2 separate regions of the Homo sapiens genome follow, and region 2 is linked to region 1. Evidence: promoter capture Hi-C in human tissues and cell types (Jung and others, 2019). All regions are on one chromosome and are shown on one strand. Each heading gives the region's core, a stretch centred on a gene start or on the middle of the fragment in contact. The rest is flanking DNA. Distances are from core to core; before and after follow the strand shown.

Region 1 (4,592 bases), core at 205-2,704:
CCCAAACTTCCCAAAGTCAGACCCCAGGCTCAGGCAGATCAGGGCAGACTCTTCAGAATCAGGCAGTTGGTGCCCCTCTTCCTCAGGGCCCTGACTTTTCTCCTTTGGGGCTTAAAGAATGGATCCCCAGGTGAGTCTGCTAAGGAGGAGAAGGTGCCTGGTGCAGGGAGGCAACCTGGCTACAGGCAGGGGTCAGGGGCCAGCCTGGCTCCGCTCATCACCTCTCACTGAAAGACCTCTAATCAGGCCCCTTCCCCTAACTGAGGCAAGGCCAAGGCCCTGAAGCTTGTCTGGAGGAATTCGCCCCCACCCTGCATGGGAGATTTGAGAGCTACCCCACTGAGAAAAGGAAGCCTCCTCATCTGGGCCAGGGGCCTACTTGCCTGCCGCCTCATGGAAGGTATTTACTGTTTTGTGCCGCTAACAGAATACCTGAGACTGGGAAATGTATAAAGAAATTTATTTGGCTCACAGTTCTGGAGGCTGGGAAGTCCACAGGCATGGTGCCGGCATCTGCTCAGCATCTGGTGAGGGCCTTCTTGCTGTGTCATCCTGCAGCAGAAGTGGAGGGACAAGAGAGCATGAGAGAGGAAGGGAAAGGGGACCAAACTCATCATTGTATCAGGAATCCATTCCTGTGATAATGGCATTAATCCATTCATGAGGGCAGAGTAATCCATTCATTACATAATCACCTCTTAAAGGTCCCACCTCTCAACATTGTTTCATTGGAGATTAAGTTGCCAATACATGAACTTTGGGGGACACATGCAAACCAAACCAGAAATTTTCTTTGGCCCACTTTCCTAGAAGAGCAGCTAAGGTTGGAGAGGCCAGAGGATCCCCCTGAGGGGACAGAGACCCATTTTTAAGACTAGATACAGCAGGATAGGAGGTATTAGCCTGAGTGAGTAGGGTGGGCAAGAGGAGAGGAGACCTGGCTTGTCCTGGTCCCATGCCTGCCTCATTTGGAGAAAACAATCTGCCCCCAGTGCCAAAAGCTCCTCCAGCTCCCAGCAATCAGGGTGAACTCAGGAGATAGGAGTCAGGGGGCCAACTCCAGACCTGGTTCTGTTACCAACTGGCTATGAGATTGCTCACTCCAAAGCTCAGTTCCCTCATCTGTAAAGTGGGTTGGTACCACCTACCTCCCAAGTGTTCGAAAAATCAAGTCAATTGGGGAACATGAAAGAGCTTCCCAAACTACAATCATACAAAATTCACTAGAAACATCACAAGTTTGATGCAGGAAGGGAAAGGCCATGAGAAGCCACCAGTCCAACATCTACCTTCTATGGAAGAGGAAATAAGAGTCCCTGGCCCAAGGGCACTTGCCAGAACCTGTGTCAGATCTCAAGCTTCTTGACTCGCTTCTCCTCTCTGCTTCCTTTCGGTGTACCCAGGCTGAGGCCTTGTACACTCAGTTTCCCAAGGCTGGGTGGTTGGGGTTGGTGTACAAAAAGGAGTTACAGATTAGAAGCTCTTAGAAGTCCTGCCCAAAGTTAGAGTGGATTATGCAGCCTGCAAACCAATGGTTAGCAGAGGAAGGGGTTGACTGAGAGCATCAGCTTGCAACTCCACCCCCCACCCCCAACAGAGGGGTGACAGTACATTTCATATGGCCTGAGGAAAGGCTACCCAACCTACAGCCTCTGCAGCTGCTGGATGATCCCAGGGTCAAAACAGAAGCCATTGGCACGGATTCCAGTGCCCCCAGCAGCAGTTACTATGCATTTCACAAGCCCTGAGGACAGACTCCCCTGCCCCACAGCCACTGCCACTGCCAAAGCACAAGCAAAGTGCATGCTCCCCAGCTCCCTGCCTACTGCTGCCAAAGCACAAGCAAAGTGCATGCTCCCCAGCTCCCTGCCTACTGCTGCCAAAGCACAAGCAAAGTGCATGCTCCCCAGCTCCCTGCCTACTGCTGCCAAAGCACAAGCAAAGTGCATGCTCCCCAGCTCCCTGCCTACTGCTGCTGCCACTGAAAGCAACCCTGTGCTCCCCAGTAGCAGGGTGGCAGTGACACCTCCACCCCAACATACCACCAGGAGCCTAGGGATCACCTGCCTCTGCCTAACACAGCCAGTGCCTACACACACTACTAAGGGGCCTAAGGAGCCAGGCCTGGCTCCACTCCTCCTTCCCAGTGCCTAAGCATGTCATCTTTGGGTATGGGAATCACCCAACCCAGTTCATCACCTTTGGCACCCAAACACTTTCCCAGGGCCTGAGATCAGGCCCACCCAACCTGCCTCTACCACCACAGCTGACACCCACACATACGTACGCACTATGTGCCTAGGGACTGGCCTCCCAAGCCCAATGCAGCCACCAGAAATTATTTAATAAAATCATGTATCAATAATAACCTTGAATACAAACAGATTAAACTTTCCAAATAAAAGACAAAGACTGGCTAAATGAATTAAAAAACATGACCCAACTATATGCTTCCTAAAAGAAACTCACCTTATGTATAAAGACACATATAGATTTAAACTAAAGGGATGAAAAAAGTCCATGCAAATGAAAACCAAAGGCAAGCAGGAATAGCTGTACATATAAGAGATAAGACAGACTTTAAGTCAAAAACAATAAAAAGAGATAAAGACAATCATTATATAATGATAAAGGGATCAATTTGGCAAAAGAATATAACAATTCTAAACATATATGCACCCAACATCAGAGCACCCAGATATATAAAGCAAATATTATTAGATGTAAAGAAAGAAGTAGACTCCAGTACAATAAGAGTTGTGAACTTCAACACCCCACTCTCAGCATTAAACAGATTATCTAGACCAAGCTTGTTCAACCTATGGCCTGCAGGCCACATGCAGCCCAGGATGGCTTTGAATGCAGCTCAACACAAATTCATAAACTTTCTTAAAACATAATGAGAGCTTTTGCAATTTATTTTAAGCTCATCAGCTATTCGTTAGTGTTACTGTATTTTATGTGTGGCTCAAGACAATTCTTTTTCCAATGTGCCTTAGGGAAGCCAAGAAATTGGACACCCCTGATCTAGACAGAAAATTAACAAAGAAACATTGAATTAAAACTGCACATTATACCAAATATACCTAACAAAAATTTACAGGACATTTCATCCAACAGCTACAAAACACACATTCTTCTCATCAGCATATGGAACATGCTCCAGGATAAACCATATGTTAGCACACAAAACAAGTCTCCACAAATTTTTAAATATCAAAATCATATGAAGTACCTTCTCAGACCACAATAAAATAAAACCAGAAGTTAATAACAAGAGGAATGTTGGAAACTGCACAAATATATGGAAATTAAACAACATGTCCCTGAATGGCCATTGGATCAAAAAAGAAATTTAAAAGGAAATCAAAAAATTTCTTGAAACAAATGAAAATCAAAACACAACATACCAAAATCTATGGGATACAGCAAAAGCAGTGCTAAATGGTAGTTTATAGCAATAAATGCCTACATCAAAAAAGTGGAAAGAATTCAAATAATCTAACAATGCACCTCAAGGAATGAGAAAAGCAAGAGAAAACCAAAACCAAAATTAGTGGAAGAAAAAGTCTACACTGTATGTATCAAAACATAACTTGGGATTCCATAAATATGTACTATTATTATATGCCAATTAAAAAAGAAAACAAGCTTTTAAAAATAAAATAAAATACCTAGGAATAAATTTAATCGTGAGGCAAAAAACAAGGAAAACTACAAAACACTGATGAAATAAATTAAAGAGGACACAAACAAATGGAAAGAGAGCCTATGTTCTTAAATCAAAATAATTGATGTCCTTAAGATGACTATACTGGCCGGGCACGGTGGCTCACACCTGTAATCCTAACACTTTGGGAAGCCGAGGCAGGTGGATCACCTGAGGTCAGGAGTTCAAGACCAGCCTGGCCAACATGGTGAAACCCCATCTCTATTAAAAATACAAAGTTAGCCAGGCATGGTGGCACACACCTGTAATCCCAGCTACTCAGGAGGCTGAGGAAGGAGAATCGCTTGAACCTGAGAGGTGGAGGTTGCAGTGAGCCAAGATTGTGCCACTGCACTCCAGCCTGAGCAACGGGAGTGAGACTCCATCTAAAAAAAAAAAAAAAAAAAAAAAAAAAAGATGACCACACTGCCCAAAAAAACCACAGATTCAAGGCAATCACTATCAAAATACCAATGTCAGTTTTGACAGAAATAGAAAAAACAACACTAAAACTATTCTGGAACCAAAAAGGAGCCTAAATAGCCAAAGCAATCCTGAGCAAAAACAACAAAGCCGAAAGTTTCACACTAGCTGACTTCAGAATATATCACAAAGCTATATTAACCAAAGCAGCATGCTATTGGAATAAAAACAGACACATAGAACAATAAAACAGAATAGAGAATCCAGAAATACATGCATGTGTTTACAGCCAATGATTTCCAACAAAAGTGCCAAGAATATACATTGAAGGACAGTCTCTTGAATAAACAGTGCTGGGAAAGTTGGATATCCATATGTGAAAGAATGAAACTAGACCCTATTTCTCACTATACAAAAAATCAACTCAGGATGGATTAAAGACTTAAACGTAACACCCAAA
Region 2 (4,284 bases), core at 1,477-3,976, 320 kb after region 1:
ATGAGTAGGCCTAAGTGGTATAATCAGCATAGCCAGGCCTCTGAAATATATGTTGTGTGAAGAATTGTCTCCAAAAGCTCAAGTCATGGGGTGGTCCTGAGGAAGGCTAGAATGCCTTTTACTTCAGGCGAAAAACAAAAAACAAAAAAAAAAAAACCTTCCTAATAGCCAGCCAATGTCTACATTCAAAATTTCATCCCTTTAGCTTATGTCTAAAATATAGAACACCCACTCTCCAAAAAATATTCATCTTATGTCAGGCACTCATATTTTGGAGTGAAAAAAGACATATTATCAGTTATAAATAGGAATGTCACAGGGACAGGAAGAGATGATAATTAGGTCTACTTCACAGTTCAATCTACATTTGCCCACTAGTCTTTCCCTTCATAGCCCAATAAGAACCAAGCTTTCAGCCAGGTCTCAAAGGTCAAGGAGACTCTCTATGGAGAGACAGGATTAATAGGCAAAAAGGATCTATCTAGAAAGCAACAGCCAGGTATCCTACTTACACATGGGCAACCCTGGCCTCATTTGGAAACCAGACCTCTTGGAACATCTGGAACTTAAAAGGGTATTGCCCAATAAAGGGTCTACCACCAAAGCCAGCTTCTGGATCCATCCATGAAACTCCCCAGCCACCATGACCTATATTTCCTTTTCTGACTTGTATCAGCAGGTGCCCACTGAGCCATTCCCTCATTTGAACTTGCTTATGCTCAGAAACAACTCATCTATAAACTCTCCCCACACTGCAGGTCACAGCTTTGGGCAGATCACAGCCAAAGGGTGAGAGAAATGGGAAAAGAGAACTGATCTCGTAAGCCTTATGTAAAATGACTGGATTTTAATAGAGTTCCTTGATGGGTACAGTGGCTCACACCTGTAATCCCAGCACTTTGGGAGGGATCCCTGCACAACACAGAGAGACAGTGTCTGTTCAAAAAATTAAAAATAGAAAGAAAAAAAAAGTTAGCCAGGCCCAGTGGCTCTTGTGTTTAGTCCCAGCTACCGGGAGGCTGAGGCAGGAGGATCACTTGAACCCAGGAGTTTGAGGCTGTAGTGAGCTGTGATCACACTACTGCATTCCAGCTTGGACGACAGATCAAGACCCTGTCTCAAAAAAACAAAACAAAACATAAAAGTGTTCCTTTCTACTGCAAAAGTATACCAGGGCTCCTGCTGCCTGATAAGCCTTCACAACTGCATAGGAAAAACCATGACAGATCAAAAGTAGCATGGTTTCCCTAGCAAGCAGACTCAGGGAAAAAAAAAAAAAAACAAAAAAAAAAACCTGTAGCATGGAATTCCCACCCTCATCAGTCAGAAGAAACAGAATAAGTCAACAAGTGGTCCCAGGAATTATATCATGTCTATGTCAAGAAAAGGCCATTTAACACCCTAGTTGTAAATAGGATTCCATCTAAGAAACCGCCTGGATATTTCAAATGCGCACAGCAAAGAGACAAGACTACCTAAGGGAAGGGTGGGACTAGGGTTCCCACGGTTGTTGGAATAGGCACACCTGAACACCAGGCTTTCAGGCAACAGAGGTGGCCCAGCCTTAACTTTCCCTTTCCAACATAAGTGGCCCCAACCTCCCCCATGCTGCTCAGTACTAAAACCGAATAGGAGCAATGAACTTATCATCTCACCAGGCCATTCTTCCAGACAAGTAGGCCTAAGATGGGGTCTTTCCTTGCTGATCTAAAAGGTCAAGTTGCCCCAAAGGCTTCTTCTTACTGCCAACAAAAAAAATCCTGAGTGCGGGGGATGAGGAAAGTTGTTCAGGAAAGATACAGGCATTTGCCATGACTACTGACCAGAAAGAACTTCTTGAACTACTTGGAACAGGCAGTGCCATGTGTGAATCCTCCATGAACCTCACATGTACAAACCTAGATTTCAACTTGCCCACTTCGGGCCACTCAGTCCTGAGCCAAAGCCTCCAGCCCAGTCCAGCCCGCAGCAAGGCCTTACCTGCTGCAGTGGACTCCTCAGAGTTGGCCCCCGAGCTGGTTCCTGTCGCCTTCTCACTGTGACTATGGCTGAGGCTCTGGCCCTGGTGCAGGAGGAGTCCCCAGAGGAGCCACAGGGCAAGACGGACGCATACATCCATGACTCTAGGTCTCAGTCAACATGCGTCTGATGTGGACACCTCGGGATCCCAGAGGCAAAGCCAGGAGCCCGGGAGTGCAGCCGACGGTCTCCAGGCAAGATGCCCTCGCGGCTCCGCAGCTGTCCAGCCACCCGCGAGCCTGCCCCCTCCAACAGCCAAAGGTCAAGTGCTCCAAGTTTGGGTGCGGGAGGAGGGCTGGCTCCTCAGGTCCAACAGTGGGTCCGCCGGGGCTGCGGCGGCCTGAGCTCGTGCCGCTTCCGGAGACTTCGGGCAGGGTGGCTGCGGGGCTGCTGTCAGCTCCGCAGATTACTACACCCCTGCGGAAGGGGGCGGCCGGAGTCTCCGCGGGCACAGAAGTGGAGGAGGAAGAGAAGAGAAGAGAAGAGAGGCGAGAAGGGGGCACCTGACCTCGCCCTGCCGAAGAGCGGCGAGCAGCAGAAGCTGGGGAGGGCGTGCGACCCGCAGGGTCCTGAGGGCGCGGGCGTCTCCGGGATCCTGGGCCTCCTAGGCCGAGGTCAGCGCCCCCGCCCAGTCCCGTGCCCAGGCGGCTGGCGGTGCCCAGGTCCAGCAGGCGGACGCACACCGGCCAGGCCCAGGACAGCGGCTTCCAGGCGGGCGGGCGGCGCGGGGCGGGCCCGGGGCGGGCGGGGGCGTGCGTCTCCGCGCCCGCCCCGCGCCGCCCGGTCCCCAGCGAAGCCCGGGCCAGCCCCAGCGCCCAGCTGGATCCCGGAATAACCGGTGAAGACGGCTCCCCGGAATCCCCGCCCCTAGCGGGCTCTCCCGGACCCCCGGCCCGCGCTAGTCTTTGCCAGGATCCCGCGCAAAGGATCAAGTCCCAGCTTCCCTTTCCCCACCGAGAGTCTCCAGCGCCAACCGCGGGCCGTCGGGCGGGTCCCTGACCCGCAGTTACTCAGGTAACTCAGGCCTGCGGCGGCGGCGACAGCAGCTGCCCTGCCCCGATCTCCGGGCCTTGGTGCTGCTCCACTCGCCTCAGTTCTAGAGCTGTCTAAACAGAGGCCCAGGACACGACGTTAGCCTCCCAGGAGCTGCCTGAGGCGACAACAGCCTGACCCGGCTCGGCCCGGGGGCGAGCTCCCAGCCCCCAACTCCCGGCCAGTTCCCAGGCTCCGCCCTCGCGCCTCGCCTGACAACCAATCGGCTTCCGCCTCTCTGCGGCTTGGGAACCCGCGCGCTTCGTCGCCCATGCGCAGCGGCCCCTGGTGGGAAAATCAGCAAACTGCAGACAGGACTCGGCGCTCCTGGGAGGGCCTGCTCTTTTGCAGAGGGTTGCCGAGTGAAGCTAAGACCCGCCCCGGGGGAGGCCCACGAGGGCCACTGGGGCCTGCGAGTGTTTTCTGAGGAAATGATGATGCCAGAAAGCAAAATGAAATGTCCAAACCACTCTAGCTAAAATTCCCCTACACATTCCTTGAGTCTGGGCTAAAGGGTGCCATCTGCTTTCCCGACCCCGCCTCCCTTCCCCTCCAAGCTAAGTGGGATGCCCTCCCTTAGCTCTCACAGCCCTTTTTCCTACCTGCCCTCAAGCTCTCAGCCCTTTAAGGTTTTTCGGTGGGGCCTGTAAATGCTTCCTCCCTGCATCTCATTCTCCCAGCTACCTCTCTGGTGGAGGAGGTGTCAGCGACTTGAGAATGAGTGCGCCAAAGAAGACAGAGCCACGCCTGAGCCTCCTTCAACAAAGCCTGCACTTCCTGTTCTCTTCTCAAGCGTGCTGTCAGCAGATCTTGACTGAAACCTCTGTGCCCTACCCTGTCCTTGGCACCAGACGCAGGGGAAAGGATCAGGCCCAGTCCCTCCTCTGACTGACAGTGCTAAACCAGCTACCTGTTCTGAGCAAGGCCCCTGAAGACTGGGAACACGAATTTGCCCAACAGCTGCCTGGCTTAAGGGTTAGGCCGTTGATATAAAAATACATGGCTAATGTAACCTACTACCACTCTCCCGGCTCTGTTAAGCTCCTGTCACACTAGCCTTCGTTAAGTTCCTAACCACGTCAAACTCAGCCACCTCACAGCCTTTGTATCTGCTGTTGCTTCTGCATGAAACACTCTCGCCTGCTCCCAGTTCCTCATGTAGCTGGTCTCTTACTCTTCCAGATACAGCTCAATGTGTCTCCTTAGAAACTTTTACTCTGCCCACCCCTTCAA

What was found. The method cuts DNA at HindIII sites, captures the fragments that hold promoters and counts their contacts. A contact is called where the count stands out against the background at its distance.
Region 2: the fragment with the promoter of STIM1 here is called in contact with a fragment that was not itself captured in region 1 in 1 of the 25 tissues and cell types used here (liver).

The regions. Positions count from the first base shown.
Region 1 is chr11:4,176,592-4,181,183 of GRCh38, reverse strand. No RefSeq gene overlaps it. Among named protein-coding and RNA genes, the nearest start is that of LINC02749, 8.3 kb to the left of the region's middle. RefSeq lists enhancers at 1,390-1,916, 1,917-2,444. The HindIII fragment of the contact is 3,553 bases long and covers 1-3,230 here.
Region 2 is chr11:3,854,106-3,858,389 of GRCh38, reverse strand. STIM1 (stromal interaction molecule 1) reads right to left here and starts at 2,726. Exons shown (of 13, transcript NM_001382567.1): 1 at 1,981-2,726. The coding sequence starts at 2,119. STIM1-AS1 (STIM1 antisense RNA 1) reads left to right here and starts at 2,812. Exons shown (of 2, transcript NR_183662.1): 1 at 2,812-3,033; 2 at 3,732-4,067. MIR4687 (microRNA 4687) reads right to left here and starts at 2,328; the gene lies at 2,249-2,328. RefSeq lists enhancers at 1,811-1,860, 1,871-1,950, 2,101-2,310, 2,526-3,471, 3,681-3,750 and silencers at 2,531-2,690, 2,751-2,810, 3,291-3,340. The HindIII fragment of the contact is 10,936 bases long and covers 1-4,284 here.